2 separate regions of the Homo sapiens genome follow, and region 2 is linked to region 1. The links are contacts of gene promoters, found by promoter capture Hi-C in blood cells and fetal thymus (Javierre and others, 2016). All regions are on one chromosome and are shown on one strand. The core of a region is centred on a gene start or on the middle of the fragment in contact, and the rest is flanking DNA. Distances in the headings are between cores, read along the strand shown. Region 1 holds the start of SLC43A3 (solute carrier family 43 member 3). Region 2 overlaps SLC43A1 (solute carrier family 43 member 1).

What was found. Contacts are between HindIII fragments. The CHiCAGO score rates a contact against its expected background, and 5 or more counts as called.
Region 2: a contact is called between a fragment that was not itself captured here and the fragment with the promoter of SLC43A3 in region 1, in 6 of 17 cell types (erythroblasts, monocytes, activated CD4 T cells and 3 more). The highest score is 13.1, in erythroblasts.

The regions. Positions count from the first base shown.
Region 1 is chr11:57,424,193-57,431,425 of GRCh38, forward strand. It overlaps SLC43A3 (solute carrier family 43 member 3), which reads right to left and starts at 2,929. Exons shown (of 14, transcript NM_199329.3): 1 at 2,870-2,929; 2 at 2,396-2,460; 3 at 1,797-2,160; 4 at 1,349-1,478. The coding sequence starts at 1,980. RefSeq lists enhancers at 861-1,653, 1,346-2,545, 1,654-2,446 and a silencer at 2,689-3,048. The HindIII fragment of the contact is 9,438 bases long and covers 1-6,060 here.
Region 2 is chr11:57,480,351-57,487,583 of GRCh38, forward strand. SLC43A1 (solute carrier family 43 member 1) reads right to left here. Exons shown (of 15, transcript NM_003627.6): 14 at 6,745-6,868; 15 at 4,184-4,892. The coding sequence ends at 4,746. Among named protein-coding and RNA genes, the nearest start is that of RTN4RL2, 23 kb to the left of the region's middle. RefSeq lists a silencer at 2,665-2,994. The HindIII fragment of the contact is 685 bases long and covers 2,662-3,346 here.

The sequences.
Region 1 (7,233 bases), core at 1,679-4,178:
GCAAGAAGCCGCGATGAGATTGAGATGTGGTCCTGACCTCATGGACAGTGCATTTTGCTCATTCTGAGGCCCAAGGCTAGCATGGAAAGTCTTGGACAATGAGCTCAGCTGACGATGTGATTGGCTTGGGACTTAGCCAGGACAGAATGGGCAAAGCGAAGGTCCTCCCACCTGGAAGCCCCAACAGCCCAACCCCTTGGAGAAAGGGGTTAGTGCCTGGTCTGCAAATCAAGGCCTTGAGTTCTAACTCCTCCTCACTCTGTGACCTTGGGCAAGGCGCTGTCCTTCTCTGGGCCTCAGGAGCCTTTTCTATAAAAAGAAATGATCGGACTGATCTAGCTCAGAGTGCTATGATTTCAGGACTACAGTCCCAAGGTTATCAGGCTCCCTTAGCATTTGGGGGTCTTGTAAGGCATGGAGTAAAAAAAAAAAAGCAATATCCTAAGGCTGGAGAAGAGGGAGGGGACAAAGGAAGGGGAGGAAAGGGGAGGTAGCAGGGAGCCAAGGACCAAGAAGGACTGAGGTACAGTCATTCTGCATCCAAAGGCTTAAATTGTAAGGGACTGGCTTTACTCTGGCTGTTTCCGGAAAGGCAGGCCCAGCCAGCCCTCCCGTCTCTCTCTCTGACAGCCAATCTCACATGTGCCTCCCTGGGAGCACCTGCTCTGAGCTGTATCAGCCCCCAGCAGGCCGCTGATTACCACTGAGCCTGGCCACAGAGCACGAGATTAGGATGCAGCAACACACTGTGTGTGAGATCACGTCCCGAACCTTCTGACTCATCTGCACAGGAAACCCCCCCAGTCTCCCCTCCAGTCAGAAGGGACCTGAAATTCCACCAGTGGCAATACCAAAGAAACTTCCTATTAGCTAAGCCCCTAGGGAGTGATTGGCTGTTGGGGCGGGGAGGGGGGGCGGTGAGGAGGATGAGGATGAAGCCTGGGCAACCTGGATGTGAGGCTGTGCAGGGGATGAGGACAAGGATCCTTGGGGTGAAGGAAGAGAAGAGCAATTTTAGGTTTTGCTAATTTTGTAACCCTGGCTCCAAGCCAGCCCTTACAGGAAGTCACCCTGGCCTCCGGCTCAATTCAGCACGTGATAGGGAAGCCACATTTATGCAGAGCAGGGAACGAGGTAAGGAAATGGAAGTGGGGCTGTGGTGAAGTGGGCAAGTCTAGAGAGAGTCCCGCTGCCTGGGGCTGTTCCTAACAGCTGCTGGGAGCGAGCTGCAGGTGTGGTGCCTGGCAGGGTGGCCGGGCTGTCTGACTCTGGATTTCACTCCAAGCTAGGCTGCTGCCTGAAGGATTCCTCTTACCCACCTTTGCCTGGGCTGGCCTTTGGGACTTACATGGCTATGAGGCGTGCCACGGTGGTCTTGAACCGGTCAAAGATGTAGCCAGTGGGGAATGTCATGAAGTTGTTCATGAAGGACCCCAGGGTGAAGATGAGTGAGAACCTCTCATCCTGGGCTTTGCAGTCTGGAGTAGAAAAAAGGTCTCCCATGCATCCCAGCCTTCCTGCCAAATGAGCACACAGGCTGGGCTCCCCTCCACCTCAGACAGCTTGTCGGTCGCAAACTTGTCCCTTAAGCTGAGTTGAAATGTGGCTGCCCCTAATTACCCCTCAGGAGCTGGTGCCTCCCTCCCAGGCACTTCCCAGATCAAGTGGGGTGAGAGCTGCTGACCCTTCCTCTCATCATAGAAAGAGGGGTGGGCAGGGGGCAGAGTCCTTCCTGCTCCTTGCCACCACGTGGGAGCCAGACTTAACTTCCTTAGAAAAGTCATCCCTGCCCTTACCAGCCTGCCCTGTGGCATTGCCAATCGGCCCAGCATCTGGTCCACACAGATCCTTAAAGTAATCTTCATTCTTGAAGACAAACACTAGTGAAGGCCAGCCAAAGAGGACGCCAGCAAAGCCCAGGCATTCCAGCAGCCCAGTCAGCAGTGTGGCCACGTGCAGGGGCAGGCCCTGGCCCGCCATGAGCAGAAGTGGAGTGGATCTTCAAATCCCACTTTGTCCTCCTGGACGGATCACAGGCGCCGTAAGCCTGGCGTTTGAGCACTTGGAAAATTCCTCTGGCAAGCCAAGCCCTTCCTTTCCCGTAGCTCTCTGGTTGTTTCAGGCCTGGGCAAAAACCATCAGCGGGTGATTCTCTGGATCCTGTAGAATAAAGATAGAGGCTGCTGGAAGAGGAGGCCTGCGGGAAAGGGAAAGGTAGACTAGAGTTATTTGTGAGGTGCATTAAGAGGCAGGATGATCATGGCCGCTGGCAGCAAATGTGGGGAATAAATACTCCAATACATCATCTTAGGCACTGCATTTGAGTAACCACGTGGCAAGTAGAGAGGCAGGTCTTGATGGCCACCTGGAGTCACAGGTGAGATAAACGACTTACCCAATAGCTCCCCGGGAGCAGGTGGAGAAGCGGAGCTCCTGCGCTCGAATTCTGAATACCGTCCCCTAAAATAATGACAGCAACTCAACCAGGTGCAGAGGCAGGGAGATTTCATACAGAAGACACAAACTCCCGCTGCCAAGTTGGTGTTATCTTCAGTTTACTGACAATGAAACAAAAGCTCCCATGGATTTCAGGAACTTGCCCAAGGTCACAGGGCTAGTTTAGTCACGACGCAGGCCATTCTACTGCCAGAAATACCCCCAACTCCCATGACCCTCGCCTAGGACTCGCAAACCTGGTCCCCGCCGCCCTTCCTCGCATCAACTTCTACCAGGAAAGCCTCCGGGGGCCGCTCCCCGCCAGCCTCCGCACCCCGCTCCAGCCTGCGGCCTGCCCTCCCCGCAGAGGAGCCCGAGGGGCCAGGCCGCGCTCGGCGCCCCATGGCGCCCGAAAGGGGACCCTTCGCCCTACCCGCCTGCTCCGCGCCGGGGCTCTCCGCGCCCTTTCCGCACGGGCCAGGTTCGCATTCGCGCCTCTCGCAGCCCCTCCCAGTCCCCTGCTCGCCTCCGCCCCCTCCTGCCCGCCCGGAAGGGGCTGGGGCAGACCTCCCACTCTCCATCACTTCCTTCTTCTTTTCCCTTGCTCACAGCCTCCCGCGCCCTTTTTACCTCTCCCTCTTGAAACTTCTCCCTCTAGAACCCCCTAGAACCCCAGCGGTGTCTTTCCCTCCCTCCTCGCTGCCTTTCAGCCTCCCAGCCCCCTTGCCTCTGCCTCCCCTAACCAAGTTAGTTGAATGCTGTTACTCGCTCAGGCCCACCTAGGGAAAATGTCACACCCAGCACCCAGAGGACACACAGACAGCACATGAGGGCATAGGGACACACACACTCTATTTGTGCATTTTGCCTTGACCGCTGGGTTGGCAGGGAACATATTTTTCCTATTTGCTCACCAGCTTAACCGTCTCTCCCAGTTTCACACTCCCAGAGCTGCCAAAAAAATCCCAACCACAGAATCAGGAAGCCAAGAACCAGGACTGAGGGCTTTTCAGAAACCATCCCCTGGAGGACTGCCCCATATTTTCACTCCCAAAAACCCCTTAGATGACTCCCTGCCTCACCCCCGCCCCCCAGGTTCTGAAAGAGCCTTCCCGCCAGACTGCATTGATTAACCATTCATTGCCCCATTTTTTATTAATCAAAGACATATATAATTGCTCATCGGAGCTTGTGATCAGCGTGAGGCCTTACTAAGCAGCTGCCTTACTATCCTTCCAGCCCAGAGCACGTGAGCTGACGTCTTCTTTGGCCTGTGTGGCCGTTTCCTTGCCAAAAGCTCAGTTTGGGGAGAGCTTCTTGCGTATTAGATGCAGTCTGCAGACTCCCAACCCCAGCTACCTGGATCCCCTGAGGGCCCAGGAACTCCAGCTATTCCAAGCCCACTCCTCTTTTTTTTAAGAGGAAGAAATAGAGGTTACGATAGGGGACAGCCAGAACTGAGGATTTTCCAGCTCACCACCAAAGCACAAAAGATAAAAGTCTGCAACCACCCTAGTGACTTGACTGAATGGAGGAAGGGTGGCTGGGGTCCTGTACCCCAAGCTACTCACTAGTTATACAACCTGAGGCAAGCTCTTTGGCTGCCCCACCTGTAAGACGAGGACAATAGTACCTTAATTATAGGAATTGTCATAAAAGAAGTATAAGATGGGTGTATGAGGTCCCTGCATGGCGCAGGTGCTATAGGCAGATTGTAGGGTAGTAGATTTTCTAGTCTGCAGTTATGTAGACAGAGCCAGAGAAGCAGCTCTGGGGAGGAATTTCAAAGGAACTTGCCCACGGTCATTCTACAAAGCTGCAGTACCTTCCCAACTCTGAAACGTATGCTCTCATCACCCCGTCTTAACAAACATTTGGACATTAGAGAAAACAAGTCTTTTCTTAAAATAACATTATTTATGGGAGAAAATCCACAAAAATATAGCATCCCAGGACAAACAGGGCTTAAGATGCAAGATTTTCTATTTTACTGCAAGACACAAAGACTCTGAAATTAATGCATGCCCTATCTTCTGCTCTGGCATACATTTTAGTCTCCTGGGGGGATCAGTAAGTGTGGAAGTAGCAAGGGAGAAACAGAAAAAAGTCAAAGTAAAGAGACAGATTTTAGAATGTTAATCTGCAGGAGCCTGCCAGAAAGATCTAGCTCATGGGCTATCTGTACATCCAGGACTGAAGCACGGGACACGGGGCAGGTCGTCCAGGGTTCTGTCCACCTTATCTTGTTACCTCTCTTGACTCTTAGAGCCTCCACTCCACATCTCCCATCAATGTCTGCAGAAGACGTGGCCTCCACTAACACAAGTCTTACTGAACTGATGGGACAGGAAATTAGAATATCCTCTGAACCATTCCCATGTTCTTTGGTTCGAATTCCAGCAGCTAGAAAAGGCAGATGCTATTCTGATCACTCTCCTGCGTGGCTCCAATGAGGATTAATGAGTAACATCAGAGAGAGAAGTGATTATAATAAGGTCTGACGGTGCACCCGATGTCTTCATCCTTTTCTCTTCGCCTCCTTCCTCATCATCTCACACCTTTTTTTTTTTAATTGACTGATTGGTTCAACAAATACATGTGGTACCTCAGGCTCTGTGCCAAGTGCCGGGATTCGTAGAGAAGAGATTCAGTGCCTGCTCTCAAGGGGCTCATTCTCTTGTGGGAGAGACAGACAAAGAAACCCAAGATTTCTGGAGTGTGGGAATGGTCTTCCAGGCAGATGCTAGCACAGCACATTGAAAGGCACGGAACCTCAACAAAACAATAACATTTAGGAACCAGCTAGAGCACAGGGTGGTGAAGAAAGTGGAAAGATTTGAGGCCAGCGTCGCCATCTAAGTGAGGGCATTAAGAATTCAGCCCACATCAATCAATCATGTCCTATTGATTTCACCCCTTAATATCTCTCCTATCTATCCGTGGCCACTGCTCTATGCAGACACTCATCATCTCTCACAGAGGCATCATCTGCTTCCAAGCCATCGCCATTCTCCTGCAAGAGTTTATTTCCATGGTTCCCACTGGATGGCTTCACTTAACTGCTCAAAACCCTTCTGAGGTCCAGTCAACTGGCTGGTAAGGACCAGTCCAGGGTCTGGGGATGCCAGCCATGAGACATTGCTTTGAGGGGAAGAGGGAGCATAGAACTGGATCTCCTGCATCCTACTGCCCAAGTACCAATGCTGGAGGTGGTTTTCCTTCCCATCATCAGCAAGTCTGGATATCCAGGATCCACCCTATGGATGTTTTTATGGACAGAGTGGGAAGATGGATATGTTTAGGTTAGGGAAAGAGGGTTTGCCAAAGAGGGCAGTATAAGTGAGCTGCACTCCATCATTCCCCTGGCACAAACAATGGCTAGTATCCTCTAGTCCTCAAGAGCACCACCTTCCAATGCAGTCCCTGCCTGTCCACAGACCTCTCTCCTCAAACTTCCTCTGAACAACCTCAGCGAGGGCAATTGCCACTCTCTGGGCAGAGTCCAGATATTCTCTCCTACCCTCTGACATCACTTTCTAAATTTGTATATGTAGATAAACTCTGAGCCATTCACATAAAGGGCTTTGATTTCGGATACGCCAAACACATAAACAAACAAACATAAGCTTTCCTTTCACAATGGGCTCATGTAAATTAAAATGTTTGGTTTTCCACCTACGGTCTTGAAAGGGGTTTCTACAGCCTGTTTTGGAAGTCAGAAAGCAAAAGGTAAATGCAAACATCATTTCACCTGCAGAGAAAATTCTAATCCTCTTGAGGCAGTGCCAAAAATAATACAAGCACACTGCTATCGAGCCAATTACTGGTATCTCTGAGCTTCCGTCTCCTCATCTATAAAATTGGAATCGAGCTGTATGGATTAAAGATAATGTATGAAAACTGCCCAATTAGTACACTATTAATAAATAGCAGCTACTGTTGTTAACAAATATTATTGACTTACTGGAAAACAAAGAGGAAATAAAGTCACATTTAGGGAGAATTTCAAAGTGTTCCTAACCTAAAAAAGAAATAAATTAGGGGGAAAACCACTAAGTAATGGGTGAGCTCAGTTTACCTTGCTTAAGAAGTCCCACCCTAGAGAACTGATCTCTAGATGACACCCAAATGCACTCAGTACAACCCCCCAAGACTGTCTGGGCTTAAGGCAGGGGCTTGGATTGTCCTGTAAGCTGTGGGAAGTCTGTTCATGAGCCACAGTAGACAGGAAGGGGATGGAGTCTTAGAGCTGGCTCTTCAGGGTATCTCCTAGTGTGTTCAAAGCAGTTCTCAGGAGGGTGGGGAACTACTACATAGCCAAGTAAATATGAGGCCTCCTTGCTCTGGGGAGACCTTTCTCTTTAACAGAGGTGAATCTGAAAGGATACCCAAAGAGGCACTGGAGGGTGGGGGCCACTCTGGCCCCTCAGAGCAGCCAGCTCAGCTTCAGTGGATGCTAGAGGCAGCAGAGGATCAGCCTGGATCAGCCTCCCTTTCACCATGCAGAAAACAGAGCTCCCCCACCAGACCAGATACTGGAAGCACTGGGCCAGGCCTAAGAGAAAGCAGAGCCCCAAGCCCCACCACACCAGGGCTTATGAGGCTACTGCTACCCACCCTCCCAAGCCCCAGCTCCACTTCTATGTTCATCAAGCAACTGTTTACTGGTAACTGCACTTCCCGATAGACTTTGCTAGAAAGGAATGCCTCAGTGCACTGACAATATCTAAACCTGCAACTCTAAGGACTAGGCTGGGGAACACTGTGTCAACATGGAGGCACGTCCTACCCCTGAGA
Region 2 (7,233 bases), core at 1,754-4,253, 56 kb after region 1:
AGTAGGAAACCTCTTCCCCCTCCTCAGATCTCAGACTCCAGAGCCCTTTCCCAAGGCCAAGACTGCACCTCTCTGACCATATACAGGGGTTCTTCAAAGCAGCAGACAGAGGCTCAGGCTCTGGCTCCCTCCAAGCAGACGGCTGCCCCCGACTGGCCACCTTGGGAAGCACAGCCAGGCTTCAGTCGTCTAGAACAGAGAATGAGCATCTAACCGCCTGGGGAGAGGACTAGGACACCAGATGATAAGGTTTATAAGCCCTTAAGCCTCTAAGGTTCTTACACCCAGAGTAGGGGGGGGACGGTTCTCAGCCCTGTTTCCCTAGCTGCGGGCTCCCAATTTTCGATCCCTAATCCGAGAGGAACTCCTCTCCAATGAAATACAGACTTGGGACTCTCAGGACACTGTGGAAGGGAAATTTCCCAACAGACTCTGAGAGTCCAGGAGGCCAGGGATAGACCAGGTGGCAGGCCCAAGGTCCAGCTGGGGTCAGGTTTCTATATGAATTTTTAATGCTTCCAGATAGACTTGTCAGATGTTCTGAAAACTGAGCATCTCCTTTCACCTCTGTACATGATGCCCTTCTCCAACCCCATTGCCCCTGCAGGAGGGCAGGCCTGGGACAGATATTCAGTGGCCTCTGGAGAAACGGTTTTGGGACAGTAGAAGGGTAAATGACCTAGTTATGTTCCCACTAGTAAGCTGTGTGACCTTGGGCAAGTTACTTAACCTCTCTGAACATTAGAGTTCTGTGGGTTTGTTTTTGTTTTGTAAGCTGGGGACAATAGTGCCAGCCTAAATCAATTTGTTGTGGGGACTCAGTGCAATAGCCCATGGCAAAGTGACCTACATGCTTGCTGTTATTATTCTCTTTCCTCAAGTTCTGCCTCCCTCTTCCAGCTTTTCTTCCAACCCCAAAGATGTCTCTGGCTATTGCTTCGAAGGTAGGAACTTTGGTTGGTTCTCCCCTTTCTCTTCAGGCCCAAACTCCCCACCTCAAGATCCTTTGGCCTTTGTAGAAACTTCAGGTGAGGAGGTGGCAGAGAAATAAGAAAGTGTGCAAGGCTGGTGGAGTGAGAGAGGAGGATAGATGGCGAAGCCCTAGCAGAGGGGAGGGAAGTGGGCAGTGGAGAGAGGAAGGGAAGACCCTGCTCAGAGAGAGAAGAGCCAGGCACAGACTCATTCCTTCATCCCTCCCTCCCTCCCTCCCTCCCTCCCTCCCTCCCTCCCTCCCTCCCTCCCTTCCTTCCTTCCTTCCTTCCTTCCTTCCTTCCTTCCTTCCCTCCATCTTCTCCACGCCTGGTATCATCATACAGAAGCAGAGAGGACTGCACTTGGTGAAAGTTTCAATTCTCCTGTGTGGAGAGGTGAGCACTGAGGAAGGGGTGGGGGCTGTCAAAGGAGACTTACCCAATCTTTCCAGCCCACCAATCCCTTGCCCAGTGTTTCTATAAAATAAGGGCCTTTTGCATCTGATTTAAGTAGGAAGCTGATTCCTGAGCCCCTCAGATCTGCTGAATCAGATAGCTAAGGGGGCCCTGGAATCTGCATTTTAGCAAGCGGAGGTGGGTTATGAAGCACTCCAAAGTTTGAGACACGCCTCAAAGGTGGAGTGGTTCTGTGGGGGGCAGAAAGGAAAATGCAAAGGGGGAAGGGGTCACACTTGGGGAAGGTTTCAGACAATACCGAGTGGAAAGGGTGATGCCAGGTGTGGGGAGTAACAGATAGAGGAGGCAAAGTGAGTGGAGACCAAGCCAGACCGGGGAGGAGGGGGCCACAGCCAAGGTGAGACAGGTCAGCAGCCAGAAACCGAAGCAGACACTTGCAGGGTGCACCCCGCCCTCTCTTCGTGGCAATCTGAGACCGAGGACGTGGAGACCCTGGAGAGCCCCCAACCTTGTTTCTGGGGGGTGGGTCAGAGAGGAAGCCTCTCATCCCCGGGCACCAGCGGCCTTCCCGGGAGGCTCAACACGCAGATACCTGGATAGGCGTCCATCACTCCCCCGGCCAGAGCCCACCAACGCTCCTCGAGGTCCGACCTTGTCCCTCCTTCTACCCCACAGTCCCCAGTCCTAGCTCATCTGCATAAAGCTCCAATTAACATGTTTTTCCTTTGCTATTTGCGATCCCAGAACTCGTTCCCCACCCCGAGCCCGTTTCCCGCCGCCTCCTCGCCCCTGGGAGGGCGGCCCCATTAACCCTCGCGACCCGGGCCGCTCCTGGCGGTCCTGACCCCGCCACCCCGTCCCGCGGCGGGGGTTTGGGGGTGAGGGGCGCGCCCTGGGGCAGAGGATTGCGCGGCAGGGTCTGCCACAGGGCAGAGGCCAGGGCTCTCCGGGAAAAAGGCAGGCGCATATATGCCCCCCTTTCTGGGAAAAGACGGGGAGGGGGGCTTCTCCTGGGAGACTCCAGGCTTCGAAATTCCTCGTTCCCTATCCTCCGGCCCCCGCACCCCTCCTCCTCCCCGCCACGCACCCTCTCCCCTCCCCAGCCATCTGTTCCACTCCGCAGCGCCGCGACAAACACGGCTCCAGCTCGCTTCCGCCCCTGCCCAGCCCCCTCCCCAAGCCCCGGGGAGTGGGGGAGTGAGCAGACGCCCTTCTCCTAGGAGGCCGGAATTTCTGCCTCCATCTCCCACCGGGGTCCGGCTGGCCAGAGGCAAGCTTCGAGACCCCCCACCAACCACCACCACCGTTGCGAGGGCCGGTGAGGCTGCAGATAACGCTTGCAAGGACGGGAGTCGGGGAGGGTGTAGGGCGAGTTTAAAGGACGGGCAGAGCAAGCCCCGGGAAGAGGCAGGGGTTTTCCCTCCCGGGTCGCCGCCCCCCGCACCCTCGGAGCCAGCCGCAGCCACGCAGCGCCGCCTGCCGGGCACACCAAGGACCTGGCGCGCACGTGGCGCTTACCCCCACCCCCGGGTCCGCTCCTGGCTCGCGCTCAGCCTCCCCAGACTATTCGCAAATTGAGGATCCCGGACACAGAGTGCAGAGACCCCGGCAAGCCTACTGAAAGCCAGCCGAACCCGCTGGTGGGTGCTAGCCAATTCTGATTTTGTACTTTACAAAAACAAAAAAAGTCAGTGTTGGAAGTCGGGAGTCTGGGCTCAGAGCAGCAGGGATCTGCGATGTGACTTTGCCAAGTCTCCAGACCCCTGAGGACAGGTTTTCCTATCTGAAAACGGAGGGGACAGTCTCTCTTATTAACTTCTCAAGAGAAACAAAGACAAAGGGAGGGAAAATGGCTTAGCTGGAATGCTGTCTTACAGAGCCAACCTTTGGAGGTGGGGGAGATGGCCAAGGCCTCTGAGGTCACTCTTGGCCCCAGGAGCAGCTGAGAACCGGAAAGAAGCTTGGGACCTCCTTTCTGCAGAGCTATCCTTTCCACAGACTGCCGAGGTTCCAAATTGAGCTCCACCACCTAACACTGTGTGCCCTTGGGTGTGTGCCTTAACCTCTCTGGGCTTGTTTCCTACAGCGACAAGAAAGAATGACAACACCAACCTCTTAGGCTATAGTTTGGATAAAATGAGATAGCTGTGTAGAACAGACAGATCCTAAACCAATGTTAGTTTTCCCTTCATTTGGGGACTTGCTCTAACCTCCAGGGCTTATGTCCCAGAGGCACAAGCAGGTGCAGGGCTGGATAAATAAGGTATGTCTTTCTGCAGGATCTCTTGTCCTCACTGATGGTGTCTTCTCTTGATATAGATAATTTTAAAGCTTCACGTTATTTATTTATTTACTTTAAAGCCTCACTTTAATGTTAAAGGTAAATGTAAATATAGTATAACAAGGAAGCTCAAAATTTGCATAAAGTTTTAAGATAAAATAGGAGACTCCAAAAAAGTGTTACTTTCGGCAGGCCCTAGGGATGCTATGGTGGGAAGTTTGAGTCATACCTTAGCATTCTTTCTAAAGCATTCTGTCCTAATCCTCTGTATGGAGAAAAGCCAGCTTCCTGGATGTACCCCAAATCCTGGGAAGTAGGGGGCAGGAGCTGGACTCCCTCCAAGCACTAAGGGCAGGGCATGGTTGGGAACAGGGAGGTGAGCCAGACAGCCAGAGGCGAACGGGCTGGCATGCCAAGCGTCCTAGTTAATGCCCAGCTGAGCCTGGGTGAAGAAGGATGGGGGTGTGGGAAGACACCCCCCACCAACCGCCAAAGACAGGCGCACACCAGCCAGTCTCTCACTTCCCTTTTTATTTCCTCTAAGACTTGCAAGCAGCAGCACCAGAGAGGGAACCTGCCCTCCTGGCCCTGGAAGGGGCCGACCCCCAACCCCTAACCCAGGACACAGCTGGCACCTCAGGCCCCTTTCCTTCTGAAAGGAGGGCTGTGTCTCTCTCACATTCACACATACACAGACACATGCATGTGTGCACACTCATGGCACATGGGACCTCAGGGGTAGCCTGTTTGCCGATCCCCCCAAGAGGTACCAGGAGGCAGACCGCTAGAAGGAGATAAGAGGCACCCTGGTCTCCTCCAACCCAAGGAGGAAGAAGGCTCAACCCCTCTAGGATAGGGACTGTCTTCAGTCAATGGAGCGTTGACTTAGGGGGCGTTTTTGAAGGTTTTTTTTCCTCCTTTTTGCAGTCTTTACAAAAATAGAACTTCTCTTGGTATTTATAAATCTACGGCCATGGCTCTATGTGCATGTTACAGGTAGAAAAGCCATATGGGGCACTCCTTTTGGTTGCTCAGGCCTTGATTGCCTGTCATCCAGGTCCCTTGGTCTGAGAAGTCTATGCGGTCACCTCAGAGCCGCTAAGCACCTTCAGTGGGCCCATCCCATTGGCGGCGTACTCCTGCTGGAGCCGGGCACGGTAATAGAAGAGGTAGGAAGGCAACAGGAATCCCAGGAGTGAGAATAGCAGGAGGCCCAGATTCACCTTTAGGGCAAGGAGAGAGAAACAGAGTCAAGTAGGTAGTCATCTGCCCTTAGCCTCCCACAGGGAGGAGAAGGCGGCCATTTTTCTCCAGGTCCTGAGCCAGAATAAATACAGCTAGTACTTATTATGTGTAGTCATTGTTCCACCAGTATCTCACTTAATGTTCAGCAATTCTGCAAAGTGGCTGAGATGAGACTTCTCAGGTATAACAAGTGGCAGGGCCTGGTGGGTGCCCACACCATATGGCACTCACTAGGTAGGTATGAGGAAGGCACAGCACTGTAGGAGTCTGGGCTGGTCAGGCTGCTCCCGAAATGGGGCCTTCTGGGCTCACCCCTCTGACCTTTGGAGATGTTAACCAATGGGATCCCGTTCAGGGTGGCGAGAGGAGGCTCTCAGACACAGTTCAAGGAACTGGGATGCACAGCCTGGTGGACAGAAGGCTTGGAAGGCCCAGGACACGCGGGCTCTGACTCGGTTCACATCCCACTCTGCATTACTCACTGTGTGACTTTGGGCAAATAATGGCAATTCTTACTGAGTGCCTCCTTCTCAGGGCTGTTGTGGCGAAGATGTAAGTTAAAAAAAAGTATGCATCATGCTTAGCACATAGTGAGTGCTTGGTAAATAGAAGCAGTTATTTCATCACAATTCTTTGGGAGGAGGGTTTACGTGTGGGTGGCCCCACAGGGCAGATGAAAGATCAGCGTCAGGGAGGCAGATGAGTTCAATGTAAGGAAAAGACTTACTAACAGCAGCAGGGCTGCCTCGTGCAGGAGTGGGTGCCCTACCACTGAGGGTATCTAAGCTAAGAGGGAAGGGTCCCCTTTCAGGGGTGCTGGAGACAGGATCCCACACTAGGTAGAACTGGATTGGACCAATGGTGCCTGAACACAGGCCCAAGAGTCAGGACTGGCCACTTCACAAAGCACCTGGAGTTTACTAAAAACAGACTCCTAGGAGGTCAGGCACTGTGGCTCACGCCTGTAACCCCAGCACTCTGGGAGGCCAAGGTGAGAAGATCATTTGAGGCCAGGAGTTTAAGACTAGCCTGTGCAACATGGCAAGACCCTGTTTATCTGTACAAAATTTTTTTTTAAAAAATTAGCCAGGTATGGTAGCCATCACCTGTGGTTGCAGCTACTCAGAAGGCTGGGGCCGGAGGATCGCTTGAGCCCAGGAATCAGAGGCTGCAGTGAGCTGTGATTTTACCACTGCACTCCAGACTGGGCAACAGAACAAGACACCTTCTCTACAAAAAAAAAAAAACAATAGGGCCGGGCGCGGTGGCTAAGGCATGTAATCCCAGCACTTTGGGAGGCTGAGGAGGGCAGATCACGAGGTCGGGAGATCGAGGCCATCCTGGCTAGCATGGTGAAACCCCGTCTCTACTAAAAATCCAAAAAAAAAAAAAAAATTAGCTGGGCGTGGTGGTGGGCGCCTGTGGTCCCAGCTACTTGAGAGGCTGAGGCAGGAGAATGGCATGAACCCGGGAGGCGGAGCTTGCAGTGAGCCGAGATCGCACCACTGCACTCCAGCCTGGGCAACAGAATGAGACTCCGTCTCAAAAAATAAAAATAAAAATAAATAAATAAATAAAATAACAATAAATTAAAAACAAAAACAGACTCCTACAGTCAGGCTGAGATATCCTGATTCAGGGGACTGGGGAATCTGTATTTTTAACACTCCGTGAGGGGTTCTAAAAGGCAGACAACTTGGAAACCTGCAGATTAGAGACCTCTGAGGTGCCTCTGGCTGAGATGAGTGAGGGATGGCACCACATACAAGGCCCTACCCCTGCCCCCAGGAGAGTGGCTCCTGCTCCCCCCACACCAACCCTCGCTCTCACCCAGAAGGGCTCTCCTTTCAGGGGTCCCACCATCGCCATGAAAAGTGGCTGCTGAAGCAAGGCGAACACAGCACTGATGAGGGACTGCAGGCCTGTCAGCGTCCCAAAGTGGTTGGATGGGAACCTGTCCACGAGACGGGGAGTATCAGGGGTGTGTGGCCCTCTCCAGCCCAGGCCAGCACCTCTCCTATCCCCTCCCCACCATGGTCCCCGCTGGCCAGGCAGGGTGGTGCTTAAGCGTTCGGGCTCTTTGCATGGGCTCTTTGGTCCCCAGCCTTGAGGGCAAATGCTCCAACTTCAGGGCCACTGAGCTGGGTTCTCACACCTCCTGTATGTGTGATATTGGCAAGTGGCTCAAACTCCCTGAGCCCCACTTCCTCCACTAATAACAGGGATGGCATTGACCTCGCAGGACTGTCCACTGTATTCTGTCAACAAACATTTAGCTGAGAACCTACTATGTGCCAGGCACTGCTCTAGGTGCTGGAG